Linked DNA regions of Homo sapiens: all the other regions are linked to region 4. Evidence: promoter capture Hi-C in 16 types of primary human blood cells and fetal thymus (Javierre and others, 2016). All regions are on one chromosome and are shown on one strand. Each heading gives the region's core, a stretch centred on a gene start or on the middle of the fragment in contact. The rest is flanking DNA. Distances are from core to core; before and after follow the strand shown. Region 1 overlaps LOC105372437 (a long non-coding RNA gene). Region 2 overlaps LRRC4B (leucine rich repeat containing 4B). Region 3 holds the start of SIGLEC9 (sialic acid binding Ig like lectin 9). Region 4 holds the start of KLK1 (kallikrein 1).

Region 1 (3,431 bases), core at 599-3,098, 490 kb before region 4:
TGGGCCGTGAGATTAAACCAGACCCCCCCAATGAGGAGTGAGACTGCGGGGAGCTTTGGGATTTCTGAGCACCGGATGATGTACTGGTGGAGGAGAGGAACAAGTGAAGATGGGAGATTCCTGCTCTGCTCAAATCCCGTCCGTGGCTCCCCAGTGCCATGGAGTAATGTTCATATTGAGCACCTGGGTATTCAGCACCGTGTGTGGACAGCCCTGTTGCCTAGGCTCCTCTCATCTAGTCCCAAACAAAACTGCATTATCATCTCCCCCAACAACCCCCCCCCCACTCCCACCCCTACTTCACCATCCACTGAGCCACTTAGCATAGACACTTGGGAAGTATCTTTGCTTCCTCCCACCACTCTCTGGCATGTCACTTAAGAAGCCCAGTCCCCTCTGTCCTGGATACGCTCTAGCTACCTGCTTCCCATCCTCAGGCCGCAGTGTTCGCCATGGAATTGCCATCATCTTCCCCAGGACACACCCACCAGAGACTGGGACCTCACCTCCCCAGCCAGCAAGGGGATTCCCCCAATGGCTGCATGCAGGGCCCGGATCTCCTCAGTGGGTCCTACGATGACAGGTGTGCCTGTATCCAGGATGGCAGCACAGCCCTGGGCACAGAGAGTCAGCCGTGAGCCCACCTTCACACTGAGGGGGAAGGAAGCAGTCATTAGAGGCAGGGTCCTAGGAGTCCAGGCCTCCAGCTCCAGACCCAGGAGACCAAGTCCCTCACCGCTCCATGTGGATCTGCCAGTAGGCGGGGACTGTGACTGGCACGAAGGTGAGGGGTGGGATGTAGTGTGCCGGGTCTGAGCCCCCCAGGACCAGCTCTCCTCCATCAGCCACTTCAGGGTCCCTGCAGGGGCAGAGTGTAGAGGTCATTGTCGCCAGCCCTCCCCCGCCAGCCCTAGGAATGGCCAGGGATGGGACTTCCTGCCAATTGGGTCATTTTTGGGGTTCTAGTTGGGGCAGTGGAATGCAGGCAGGGCCGAGATGTTGGGACTGGAAACAAGAAATGAAGGGAAATGGTGCTTTTCTTGATGGAAGTTAGGACTTTAGGATGATGGATACTTCCTGAAGTGGAGAGGAGACTTCTTCATTTGGCTGTGGAAGGTAGAGCTTTTGGGGGAAATTCCTGAGCTGAATATCATAGTAACCAAGCAGACCAGTGGAGTCTCAGAATTGGCTCGAAGGTGTGACTTGTACAGGAGTGGGGTGGCTTCCTGGGAAGGTGCATAGACTTTCTGAATTGCCTGTTGTGGTATCTAGAAAGGTGTTAGACTTCCTGAGCTGGCTGAGAGTGATGGGAACGGGGATGGAAACTTCCTGGAAGATGTAAATGAGTGGGACCTACCGAGAGCTAGGTGGAACTTCTTGAGTGGGTTGGATGTCAGGGTAACTGAGTGGGCATTGGACTGTGTGTGATGGGCCCTGGGAGGGAAAGTGAAGACTTCTCGGGTGGTGGGTGGGACTTCTGAGCATAAGATTGACCTTCCTACCAGGTGGGTGGGGCTTCGTGAATTCAATCAGGCATTTCCTGACTTCTGGTCAGTGTTCTCAAATGGGATTTGAGCTTTATGGTGAAGAGAAGGTTCCTGAGTATTTGGTTGGGTGGGGCATAGAATTTCCTAGTTTGATTTTGAAACTCAGCATATTGAACTGTTGGTGAGTTTCTTTAATATGTCTTAAGTTGTCACTTAAGCTCTGGGGCTTATGAATAGGGTTGAGGTGTTTCTTCTGTTAGGTAGGTGGCTACTTCCTGAATGAAGGGTGGGATTGATTTTTTTTTTTTTTTTTTTTTTTTGGAGACGGTCTCTCTCTGTCACCCAGACTGGAGAGCAGTGGTGCGATCTCGGCTCACTGCAACCTCCACCTCCCGGATTCAAGCAATTCTCCTGCCTCAGCCTCTCAAGTAGCTGGGATTACAGGCATGTGCCACCGCACCCAGCTAATTTTTATAGTTTTAGTACAGATGGGGTTTCACCATGTTAGCCAGGCTGGTCTGGAACTCTTGACTTCAGGTGATCAATCTGCCTCAGCCTCCCAAATTGCTGGGATTACGGGCATGAGCCACCGTGCCTGAACTGGGACTTTCTTTATGGAGTAAGAGACTTCCTGAAGGAGGGCCTCACTTCCTTCTGAGGAATAGGACTCATAGATAGGTGCACCCTCCCCAGCACCTGTTGAAGTAAAAGGAGAAGACAGGCTTATCCAATAGCCCCTGCTCCACCAGTACATCCAGCGGGGGCCGAACTCCTTCCACAGACAGAATGGGAAAACCGAGGCCCAATATCCCATCGGGGCGGGAAACAGTGAAGACCAGGCTGGATTCCCACAGAGCTTCCCCGAAAATCACGGATGCACCCTTGATTCCACCAATCTAGGGGTAGATTGAGATGTGACCAGTTACTTTTGGGAGGACAATAACCACATGTCCTGAGGTCTCCCAAACCAAAGCATTAATCCCAGGTCTGGGGACATCTGGACCCAAGCCCCCAACTGCTTAGCAAACTTTGCCTCTGGACTTGAGAGAATTCCTATCCCTTCACCCAGGAACCCCTCCCCCTCCTTGAGAAGCCCCATCCATCGGCTCAGGAAGCCCCTGCACCTCAAGCCCCTCCCTAAGCCAGATGATCTTAGACAACAGGGTTCTCCCAGGCTCGAGGCTTCCTGGAGTCAAAGGCCACTCACAGTCAGCTTGTCCTCACTCAGGATTCCATCTACCCGCCCAGTTCCATACTGAATGGCAAACTTGGTCCCACTGGGCTTGAAGGAGCTGGAGGCATTGGGATTGAAGCGGTGGTGGAACCCTAGGTCAGAAGTCAGAGAGGTGTCACTGTGGGAGGGGAGCTTTCCGAATGCCTTCTGCCCCTTTAACCTTCTGACCTTTGAGGGTGTCAGAAAAGAACAGTTCCTCAAAAACCTTTGGGAAGCTGAGGCCCAGCCCCGCCTTCTCCCTTCACCCCCATTCAGCCTTATTCTCCCACATAGAAGCTCACAGCAGGGCACACTGAAGAAGTGGCATCTCCTGGACGGGACCCAGAGATTGGAGGAGCCAGTGTCAAAGGCAACAGTGAAGTTTTGTGGAGGCGTTCCCAGCCCAATTTCCCCAAAATACTGGGCCTGAGGAGGCAAAAGAAGAGACAGAGTCAATGAAGAGTTTGGCTCAAGGGCACAGGAGTGGGGGCTGTGTAGGGCTGTGACTCACATCCAGGAATTTGGAGAGAGGTACCGAGGCAGGCTTGTCCCCAGGGGATGGGGCCCCCAACTTGGGGAGCTCTGCTGGTTTTCCCCATCCCCTCAGTAGGTTCAGGGTCCTGCGTCCAGGGTGGACTTGACGAAGAGGGATCCTGTAGGGTATGAAGATGATGAGAATTAGGAAGCCGCCCTTCCTGGAGACCCTCTAAAATAGACTTACCCAAATGGAA
Region 2 (3,124 bases), core at 26-2,525, 300 kb before region 4:
CTGCAGTGAACTGTGATCGTGCCACTGAGCTCCAGCCTGCGTGACAGAGGGAGATCCCGTCCCCAAAATAAATAAATAAATATACAAAATGAAAATAGTAATACCAGCAACTAAGACACATTGAACACATCTTTGGTGCCAGACACTGTTCTAAACATTTTGTGGGTAATAACTCTTTTAATCCTCCAAACTGCCCTGTGAGATGGGCACTATTACCAGTCCTTATTCGATACCTGCAATTCCAAAATTCTTAAGGCCCTAACAATCAGATTTTTCCAAACTTTGACACCAAATCCCACTTGGTGGCAAAACCCGATCAGAACTCATGTGAAGCTATTTTATTTATTATTTATTTATTTATTTATTTATTTATTTATTTTGAGATGGAGTCTCGCTCTGTCGCCCAGCCTGGAGTGCAGAGGCGTGATCTCGGCTCACTGCAACCTCTGCCTGCCGGGTTCAAGTGATTCTCCTGCCTCAGCCTCACAAGTAGCTGGGATTACAGGCACGCATCAACACGCTTGGCTAATTTTTTGTATTTTTAGTAGAGACAGGGTTTTGCCATGTTGGCCAGGCTGGTCTCGAACTCCTGGCCTCAGGTGATCCACCCGCCTTGGCCTTCCAAAGTGCTGGGATTACCGGCGTGAGCCACCTCACCCAGCCACATGAAAGTAAAGCTTTTATTGATCCCACTCGTGACTATCCAAACATTTCATTCTAGAAATTCCCATGTTTCAAGACCACTAAGATATTATAAAACCTATACTATCTATTACTATGTTTCTAATATCGGAATGTCAAAACGCATCAGACCTCAAGAGTTTCACACGAAGGATGATGAATTAGGCCCAGGGAGGTGCAGTGACTTGCCCAAGGTCACACAGAAGTGGACAGCAGAGTTGGGACTGGATCCAGGCCCTCTGGTTCCAGAGTCCTGGCTCTTGACCTCTGACCCTGGCTGCCGCCTCTCAGGGCTGGAGCTGGGGTCCACGGGAGGGGCAGTGCTGGGTCAGAGCACGGGAGGCAGGAGCTCACAGGGTCCTCACTACTGATGACCACGCCGGGTGCACTGAGGCCCAGAAGGCCACACAGCCATTGGATCATATCTGCAAAGCCCAGATAGTGGTGTGTGCCAGGGAGAAGGGGACGGACACTGGGGGAATGCGGTGTTACAGTATTAACGGAGGAAACTGAGAACCTCAGATGCATCCTGTGTCATCACAAAGAAGCTGAAGAATTAGGTATCAGAGTATATGCACCAAAAGAAAAAAGAGAAAAAGAGGCCGGGCGTGGTGGCTCACACCTGTAATCCCAGCACTTAGGTAGGCCGAGGCGGGCAGATCAGTTGAGGTTGGGAGTTTGAGACCAGCCTGGCCAACATGATAAAACTCCGTCTCTGCTAAAAATACAAAAATTAGCCGGGGGTGGTGGGGGGTGCCTGTAATCCCAGTTACTCGGGAGACTGAGGCAAGAGGGAGGCGGAGGTTGCAGTGAGCCGAGATCGCGCCACTGCACTCTGGCCTGGGCAACACAGTGAGACTCCATCTTAAAAACAAAAAAGAGGCCGGGCATGGTGGCTCATGCCTGTAATCCTAGCACTCTGAGAGGCCAAGGCAGGTGGATCACCTGGGTCAGGATTTCGAGACCAGCTTGGCCAACATGGCGAAACCCCATCTCTACTAAAAATACAAAAAATTAGTCAGGCATGGTGGCAGGTGCCTGTAATCCCAGCTACTTGGGAGGCTGAGGCAGGAGAATCTCTTGAACCCGGGAGGCGGAGGTTGCAGTGAGCCAAGATCGCCCAGTTGCACTCCAGCCTGGGTGACAGAGTGAGACTCTGTCTAAAAAAAAAAAAAAACTGGAAGGACATACTCCAAGCTTTTCTTAGTAGTGAACTTTATCTGTTGGGAATTATGGACAATTTTTATTCTTGTGTGATATTTTTTCCTCAATGAGGAAAAATTACTTTTACAGTAAGCAGGAATAAAAACAAAACCAAACCCAGATATACCTGAGAGGCAAACAGCGTAAGAAATGGTAGAATCTGTGGCATAGGCAGAATCATAAAATAATAATAATGTATGTCGGTGCTGTCCAATAGAAATAGAATGTGAACACGTGTGTAATGTTTGTTTGGTTGTTTTGTTTTAAGACAGAGTCTTGCTGTGTCACCCAGGCTGGAGTGCAGTGGCGCAGTCTCGGCTCACTGCAGCCTTGACCGTCTGGGCTCAAGTGATCTGCTCGCCTCAGCCTCCTGAGTAGCTGGGACTACAGGCACGTGCCAGCACACCTGGCTAATTTTATTTTATTTTAATTTTTTGTAGAGATGGGGTCTCCCTATGTTGCCCAGGCTGGTCTCAAACTCCTGGCCTCAAGCGATCCTCCCGTCTCAGCCTCCCAAAGTGCTGGGATTATAGGTGTGAGCCACCACACCCAGCCCACATGTGTAATTTTAAATTTCCTAGAAGCCACATTGAAATAATAATAAAGAAAAAACCAAACAGGTGAAATCAACTTTACTAATATATTTATTTAGCTCAACAGGTCCAAAATACTCTCATTTGAACCTGTCATCAGATGCAAACTTGCGATTGAGCCATTTTACACTCTTTATGGTGGAGCTTCGAAATCCAAGGAAACCCAACATGTGTTTTACACCCAGGGCGTCCAGGGCACCTCTCAGTAGCAACGCATGCAGTCCCCGAGCCCAGCCAGCAGCCCCGATGCTGGCGGCTGCCCTGTGAGATGCTGCGGGTTTACTCGGTGCCCAGGGACGCTCTGTGGACACAGTCACCTTTTGTCCATCCAGCAGCCCTAAGAACAAGGACTGTGATCGCCCCGTTTTAGAAAGGAGGAAACAGGAGCCTAAAGAAGTGGCTTGCTCCATGGCAGAGCTGGGCAGGGCTGGCCGGAGCCTGCGCCCCTCCCCGTCTCGCTCGGCCACCTCACACCCACCCATCGCCGTTCCCCGTGGACAGACACGGAAACAGAGGTCACGGGTGTAGTGTGAAGAGCAGAGCCCTGTTCAAATCCCGCCTCCCCCGTCCTGGTTGTAGGGCCTGTCACTTGAGCTCTCTGTACCTCTGGGCTCACTCTTACCACGAGGAGGATGATGAAAAGCACT
Region 3 (3,085 bases), core at 95-2,594, 300 kb after region 4:
AGATGATAAAACTACCTAGAAAAGCATGGAGACCATTAGCGTTAAAGTGAGGCTGGGGCTGCTTCAGGAGGAAGTGGGGTGTGGCTGACAGGAAGTGGGGTAACAAAGAGGAGGTGTTGCGGCATCCCCAGTGTTCTGTTTCTCTAAGCATGTTCATATGTGTAAACCGCTGAGATTTTTTCTTGGGGGGAAGACATTTTTATCTATATGGCTTATATTTCTCCCAAAAATATTTCTAGAAAACTGACATCGGTCTAAGGAGGCTCCACCACACAGGATACTCCCAGTTCCTCCCAGCCCAGCCACACAGTTACAAAAAATCTTCTGCTGAATTCAGGTGCATGTTTCTTCTCCCATGAAATCCTGCCCATCGCGGAGGGTGCATGCCCCGGGGCTGGTGTCCTCACTCCACATCTCCTGTTCACCGGGACCCCTGGGAGCAGAGCTTGCAGAAGCAAAGCCCCAGGGCCAGCTGATCCCTCATGTTCTGGAGTAACCAGGGAAGTGTGGCTGAGCGAGACATCGGTGGTGAAGAAACCCTTCGTGGTGCAGTGAGGAAAGGAGAAATATCTTCCCTTTTGAAATCTGCCCCTTTTCTTCCGAATTTCCTCCCTTCCAAGCCCCACAGTACAACAGTCACAGCCTCAGTTTCCCAGACCTCCTGCGAGCCAGGCTCCCCTCTGTGTCCTTGGCGTGTATCAACACATAGAATCCTCACCTCCACAGCCCCATGTCCCTCTGCTCAGTCCTCCTGAGATTGAACCCCTGACCTACGGGAGAGTGACCCCATCCTGCCTGTGCCCCCCAACTGAAGCTCCTGCCGTGGACAGCTCAGACGTCAGGAGCCTCCATGTCTCCCCTCCGCACAGTGACCCCTTGGGGACAGTGTCCAGCTCTGCTGTGTTGACCTCGTTGTGCAGAAAGGGGGTGCCCACCTCGTGCTTGCTTGGGGGGGATGAGAGGCTGCCTGCTCACCCCACCTGCACCCCCATCTCTCATGGCCCCAAGTCCCACCTCTGAGCTACGCAGATATCCACAGCCTCTGACTCAGGGGTCTGGCCAGATGGGACTCATTTTCACCCTGCAGAAAATGTCACCTAAGGGGAAGGGCATTGAGAGGGAGGCAGGAGGTGGGGTGGGCCCTGCATGGGGTGGGAATCTGGGTGAGTCTGTCTCCCGCTCTGGCCTCAGGGACCCAGGAGTGAACATGGGGTGGTGGACGGTGGATCTCCCAGGGCTGACCCGGGCCTGACAGTGTCTGGGTGTAAAGTTCCTCCTCTGAGGAGGTCACTGTTCCGACCTCGCCCCTGTCTTCCTGTAGGGCCTCCTCTAAGTCTTGAGCCCGCAGTTCCTGAGAGAAGAACCCTGAGGAACAGACGTTCCCTCGCGGCCCTGGCACCTCTAACCCCAGACATGCTGCTGCTGCTGCTGCCCCTGCTCTGGGGGAGGGAGAGGGCGGAAGGACAGACAAGTAAACTGCTGACGATGCAGAGTTCCGTGACGGTGCAGGAAGGCCTGTGTGTCCATGTGCCCTGCTCCTTCTCCTACCCCTCGCATGGCTGGATTTACCCTGGCCCAGTAGTTCATGGCTACTGGTTCCGGGAAGGGGCCAATACAGACCAGGATGCTCCAGTGGCCACAAACAACCCAGCTCGGGCAGTGTGGGAGGAGACTCGGGACCGATTCCACCTCCTTGGGGACCCACATACCAAGAATTGCACCCTGAGCATCAGAGATGCCAGAAGAAGTGATGCGGGGAGATACTTCTTTCGTATGGAGAAAGGAAGTATAAAATGGAATTATAAACATCACCGGCTCTCTGTGAATGTGACAGGTAAGGCACAGGCTCCAGGAAAGGCCACAGGGAAAGGTCATGGGGGCGGCAGGGAAAGGCTGGGATGGAGCCCCTGCCCCAGGAGAGGGCTTAGGGTGAAGCGAGTTGGCTCAGGGCAGGAGCTGGACCAGAGCCTGAGCTCCCCCCAGGGCTGCACCATGGATCCTCTGACCTGATCCTGAGTCCCCCTCTCTTCACCAGCCTTGACCCACAGGCCCAACATCCTCATCCCAGGCACCCTGGAGTCCGGCTGCCCCCAGAATCTGACCTGCTCTGTGCCCTGGGCCTGTGAGCAGGGGACACCCCCTATGATCTCCTGGATAGGGACCTCCGTGTCCCCCCTGGACCCCTCCACCACCCGCTCCTCGGTGCTCACCCTCATCCCACAGCCCCAGGACCATGGCACCAGCCTCACCTGTCAGGTGACCTTCCCTGGGGCCAGCGTGACCACGAACAAGACCGTCCATCTCAACGTGTCCTGTGAGTGCTGGGCCGGGACGCCTGGGTCCCTGATGGGGTGAGCGTCAAGCCTGGACACTGGGTGCTGGGTCCCGGAATCTGGGCTGGTGGTGGGGTCAGGAGGACACTGGCTCTGCCTTCCCTGTTTATGCGGCTCCTGGGGACAGACAGGGCCAGTGTCCCCAGCCCTCACAGTGATGCGGGTCTCCATGTCTTTCTGTCCCAGACCCGCCTCAGAACTTGACCATGACTGTCTTCCAAGGAGACGGCACAGGTAGGATGGAGCTCCCTCCCTGGGGCTGGAGGAGCAGGGCCTTCAGGTCAGGATGGGGCTGGCTTATTCCTCAACCTGGACTCACTTTGGCAAACAGGGATGTCCTTGTGGGTGAACTCAGGGCCCCTCTGTATCCTTAGGCCCCAAGGCCACTTGTTCCCATCCTCCCATCACCTCCCTTGGACTCCCCCACACACCCCCCCCTCAGCCTCAAACAAGAAGAGGGTGGCATTCACACAGCAGGACCAGGCTTTGAGGCTCCTTCTCATGTATCTCCTGAATACATCTCCACCCTTATCTGTTTATTTCTGATAGTTCTGATCTAAGTACTTCTGGACAGGTGATAAATGTCCATGGGCAAAAATTCAAATTGCAGAGCAAAGGCTCTCCTCCGATGCCTGCCCCCCTCCCCAGAACCAACCACTGTCCATCCAGGCTGCCCTGAGTCTCGGTTTGTACACCTGGAGGATCTCAGAGGTGGTTTGACGTCCGTAGTGAGACTGTCCGCACCCTCCTCT
Region 4 (3,199 bases), core at 410-2,909:
GAGACAGGAGACAGTGTCTGGAGCAGACACTGCATCTGGGCGTCAGGTCATTTGGGGTCTGGGGCTGGGGGATGGGAGGTGGTGGGTTAGGGGAGTGGAAAGGGATTCTGGAAACCAGGGATCAAGGCGCCAAGGGTGGGACAGGATCAGAGGCTCACTGAGGAAGAATCTGGAGGGCTAAGGGGCTCCTAGGCTAGGGAAACAGGACCTGGGTTGGGCTTTTGAGGTTCAGGAAAGGATGCAGCTTTAGGGAACCAGGTCTGAGAGGTAAAGAAGAGCATCTGGACTGAAGAGTTTGGGGGTGACTTGGGGTCCCTACATTGGGGTTGGAAGGGGCCAGCTTGGCTGGGACAGTTAGATTTCAGGGCTTCCTGGTTAAAGGGTAAAAGAAAGGGCTATGGTTAAGGCTAGAGGTGGGCTTCCGAGAGGTTTTGGGGTCCTTCCTGTGAACCAGGAATGGCAATCTGAGGGGAGGTTGGGGCCCTGAGAACACAGTTGCGGTCAGGACTGGGACGGGGCTCAGGAGGAGGGAGGCGTGAGTGGCAGTCCTTCTCGGACAGGGTGAAGGATGGGATCTTCGTTTCTCATGGGGATGGGGTTCATGGTCTGAGGGTACTGGAAGGATATGGGGTCCTCTTGGAGGCAATCCTAGGAAGAGGATTGGAGAAGTGGTGAGAACAGGCGCCAAGCAGCTGTGGGAATGCAATGCAGGACCCACTTGACGTGAGGTTGTAGAATCACATACTGACTTGGGGGAGGCCAGGGCAGAAGCGCTGGCTGAGAAGGCATTCAGGATCCTTGGGGTGGGGTTCCAGAAAACCAGAGCTGTGTAGGAACAATTCAGGCAGAGAAGGGCTGGGGCCTGGGGCGGGATGGAACTTCCCCAAGGAAAGGAGCATGTGGTGGGAGGGTGTGGTGTTTTTCCTGGGAGAGCTGGGGGTGCTGGGTGGGAAGGGACATTTGCAGACCCCCCCCCATACCAGATGGGGGATCCCACATGCCAGTTTGGGAAGCAGGGTTTTCTGGTGAAATTTGGGGGACCCTGGAAGGACTGGGGAGACCAGATGTCAGGGTCTGGAGGACACAGTTGAGAGCGGACAGCTGGATGGAAAAAGTCACTGGAGTGTGGTGGGATTTGTAGACTCAGGAGCCAAATAGGTGGCCGCAGGGAACTAGGGGGCAGGAGGGGATGATCAGAGTCCTGTGGGGTGGGGGAAGCCCATGGGAGGGTTGGGGTCCTCCAGAGAGAGACAGAGATGGCCCAGAATCTGCCCCTTTGGTAAAGCGGTGGGACAGGGCGTTGGCTAGGGAAGAGGAGAAAGTACTGAGGCTTCCTGGGAGGAGCAGGAATCTGGTGTGGGAGTGAGCACTATGACAACATGGAGGAGCGGGGGTGGAAGTTTAGGGTGGGGCCGCGCAAGATAGATAAGAGCCGGGGCACCCCGGACTAGGATAGACTGTGGGCCAGAGGGATGAGGGTGGGGTGTTGGAGGGGAAGGTCTTATCGGGGGGGGATGTGAGGCCAGCAAGAGAATCAGGGCCCGTTCCCCCTCCCACATCCCCCCACTGTCTCACCAGTCCCCCCCAGGGACAGGGCGAGGCACAGAACCAGGAACCACATGGTGACAGAGGTGTCCAGGGGCCAGCAGGTGGAGGAACTGGGGAACCTCCCTGGGGAGGCTTTTAAAAGCCCTTATCCCCTCAGAGCCCCACCCCTGCCCTGCTGGCACCCAGATGTTGGCCAAGGCCCTTCCCCTGTTGCCTGGGGGCTGGACAATTGCCCCCCCCCCCTCCGATCCCCAGAGCTGTAGACGGGGAGGGAGAACCAGCACCTGTTCTGCAGGCCCTGGATCACGCTGGACGCATTCCTGGGGTTGAAGCCAGGTGGGGCAGGGCCTGTGGCTCTGGGGCTTTGCTCTGGGGAGCAGCCAGTGAGGCAAGGGGGGACTGAGGGGAAGCAGAAACAGGAAGACGGAGGAATCAGTGACCCCTGGTACAAAGCCCCATATACCTCAGTCTCAATTAAGGCCCTGCACCCCCAGACCTGGTGCCCTCAAACACCAGCAGTTAGGGCTCTGATTCCCTGCACCACTCGGAGCCAAGATACTAGCATCTCAGCTGCCAGTTCCCCCTGAAATATAAGCCTTGGCCTTCAGAATGCCCTGGTTCTTGCACTCCCAGACCCAGGACCTAGGTCCCCAAAGCTACTGTTCCTTTCATAATAAAATTTTGGGGTACACATCACCACATTCCTAGTGCCTCCAGATCCAGGAATGTGAAGTTTCAGGGGTCTCCCAGGGTAAGTTCTTTAGCATTACAAAATCCAGTGTCCCTCCCAAACAATGCTGGGGTCTCAATGAGCCTCCCACTTCTTGCTCCCAGTTATGGGTGCTCAACGTCCTGTCCTCCAAAGTCCCAGAGATCTGGACAACCTTCCCTCCCAGGTCAAGATCAGGCTAACCACAGATTCCAATGACCCTTCCCCCCCACCACCAGTACAATATTTAGGTCTCACGAGCCAGGTTCATGTACTTCAACATTCAGCGACCTTGAACATCACATTTTGTGGTCTCTGAAGATAATTAGGAACTAGATTCCTGCAGCCTCAATGGTAAACCCATAGGCTTCCAACAGGTTGTCTTGGCTTTTTGGTAAAATCAAAGCAGCTCAGAGTTCCAGCCTCTGCTGTATATCAGGGACCTGGCTAAGGAAAGGACAGTATTTGCCTTTTTGCCATGGCTACCAGGAAGCCCAGAACTAAATCTTTTTTTTTTTTTTTTTTTTTCTGAGATGGAGTCTTGCTCTGTCACCAGGCTGGAGTGCAGTGGCGCGATCTCGGCTCACTGCAACTCCTGCCTCCTAAGTTCAAGCGATCCTCCCACATCACCCTCCCAAGTAGCTAGGATTACAGTCGTGTGCCACCACGCCCGGCTAAATTTTTTTAGTATTTTTAGTAGAGATGGGGTTTCACCATGTTGGCCAGGCTGGTCTTGCACTCCTGACCTCAAGTGAGCCGCCCGCCTTGGCCTCCCAAAGTGCTGGGATTACAGGTGTGAGCCACCATGCCCGGCCCAGAACTAAACCTTAAAGAAAAAGCCATTCTTGGTAATCTAGTGTCTGTTAGGTCCTTTAACTGGGATCCAGAGATAGAGGGTATTTACTCAGTGCCAGACACGATTTTAATCAGTTCAGACGAATC

What was found. The method cuts DNA at HindIII sites, captures the fragments that hold promoters and counts their contacts. A CHiCAGO score of 5 or more calls a contact.
Region 1: a contact is called between a fragment that was not itself captured here and the fragment with the promoter of KLK1 in region 4, in 1 of 17 cell types (naive CD8 T cells). The highest score is 5.1, in naive CD8 T cells.
Region 2: a fragment that was not itself captured here is called in contact with the fragment with the promoter of KLK1 in region 4 in 1 of 17 cell types (total CD8 T cells); the score reaches 5.1 in total CD8 T cells.
Region 3: the fragment with the promoter of SIGLEC9 here is called in contact with the fragment with the promoter of KLK1 in region 4 in 3 of 17 cell types (naive CD8 T cells, fetal thymus and activated CD4 T cells); the score reaches 6.9 in naive CD8 T cells.

Annotation. Positions count from the first base shown.
Region 1 is chr19:50,334,323-50,337,753 of GRCh38, forward strand. The region is part of intron 1 of LOC105372437 (a long non-coding RNA gene); the gene reads left to right. It also overlaps the pseudogene NAPSB. Among named protein-coding and RNA genes, the nearest start is that of KCNC3, 6.7 kb to the left of the region's middle. RefSeq lists an enhancer at 1-248. The HindIII fragment of the contact is 4,846 bases long and covers 1-3,431 here.
Region 2 is chr19:50,522,115-50,525,238 of GRCh38, forward strand. All of the region lies in intron 2 of LRRC4B (leucine rich repeat containing 4B), which reads right to left. All of the region lies in intron 1 of LOC124904747 (a long non-coding RNA gene), which reads left to right. Among named protein-coding and RNA genes, the nearest start is that of ASPDH, 9.8 kb to the left of the region's middle. The HindIII fragment of the contact is 1,201 bases long and covers 676-1,876 here.
Region 3 is chr19:51,123,562-51,126,646 of GRCh38, forward strand. SIGLEC9 (sialic acid binding Ig like lectin 9) reads left to right here and starts at 1,345. Exons shown (of 7, transcript NM_014441.3): 1 at 1,345-1,834; 2 at 2,036-2,314; 3 at 2,520-2,567. The coding sequence starts at 1,414. The HindIII fragment of the contact is 17,590 bases long and covers 1-3,085 here.
Region 4 is chr19:50,822,128-50,825,326 of GRCh38, forward strand. KLK1 (kallikrein 1) reads right to left here and starts at 1,660. Exons shown (of 5, transcript NM_002257.4): 1 at 1,576-1,660. The coding sequence starts at 1,621. It overlaps KLK15 (kallikrein related peptidase 15), which reads right to left. Exons shown (of 6, transcript NM_017509.4): 6 at 3,162-3,199. The HindIII fragment of the contact is 16,614 bases long and covers 1-3,199 here.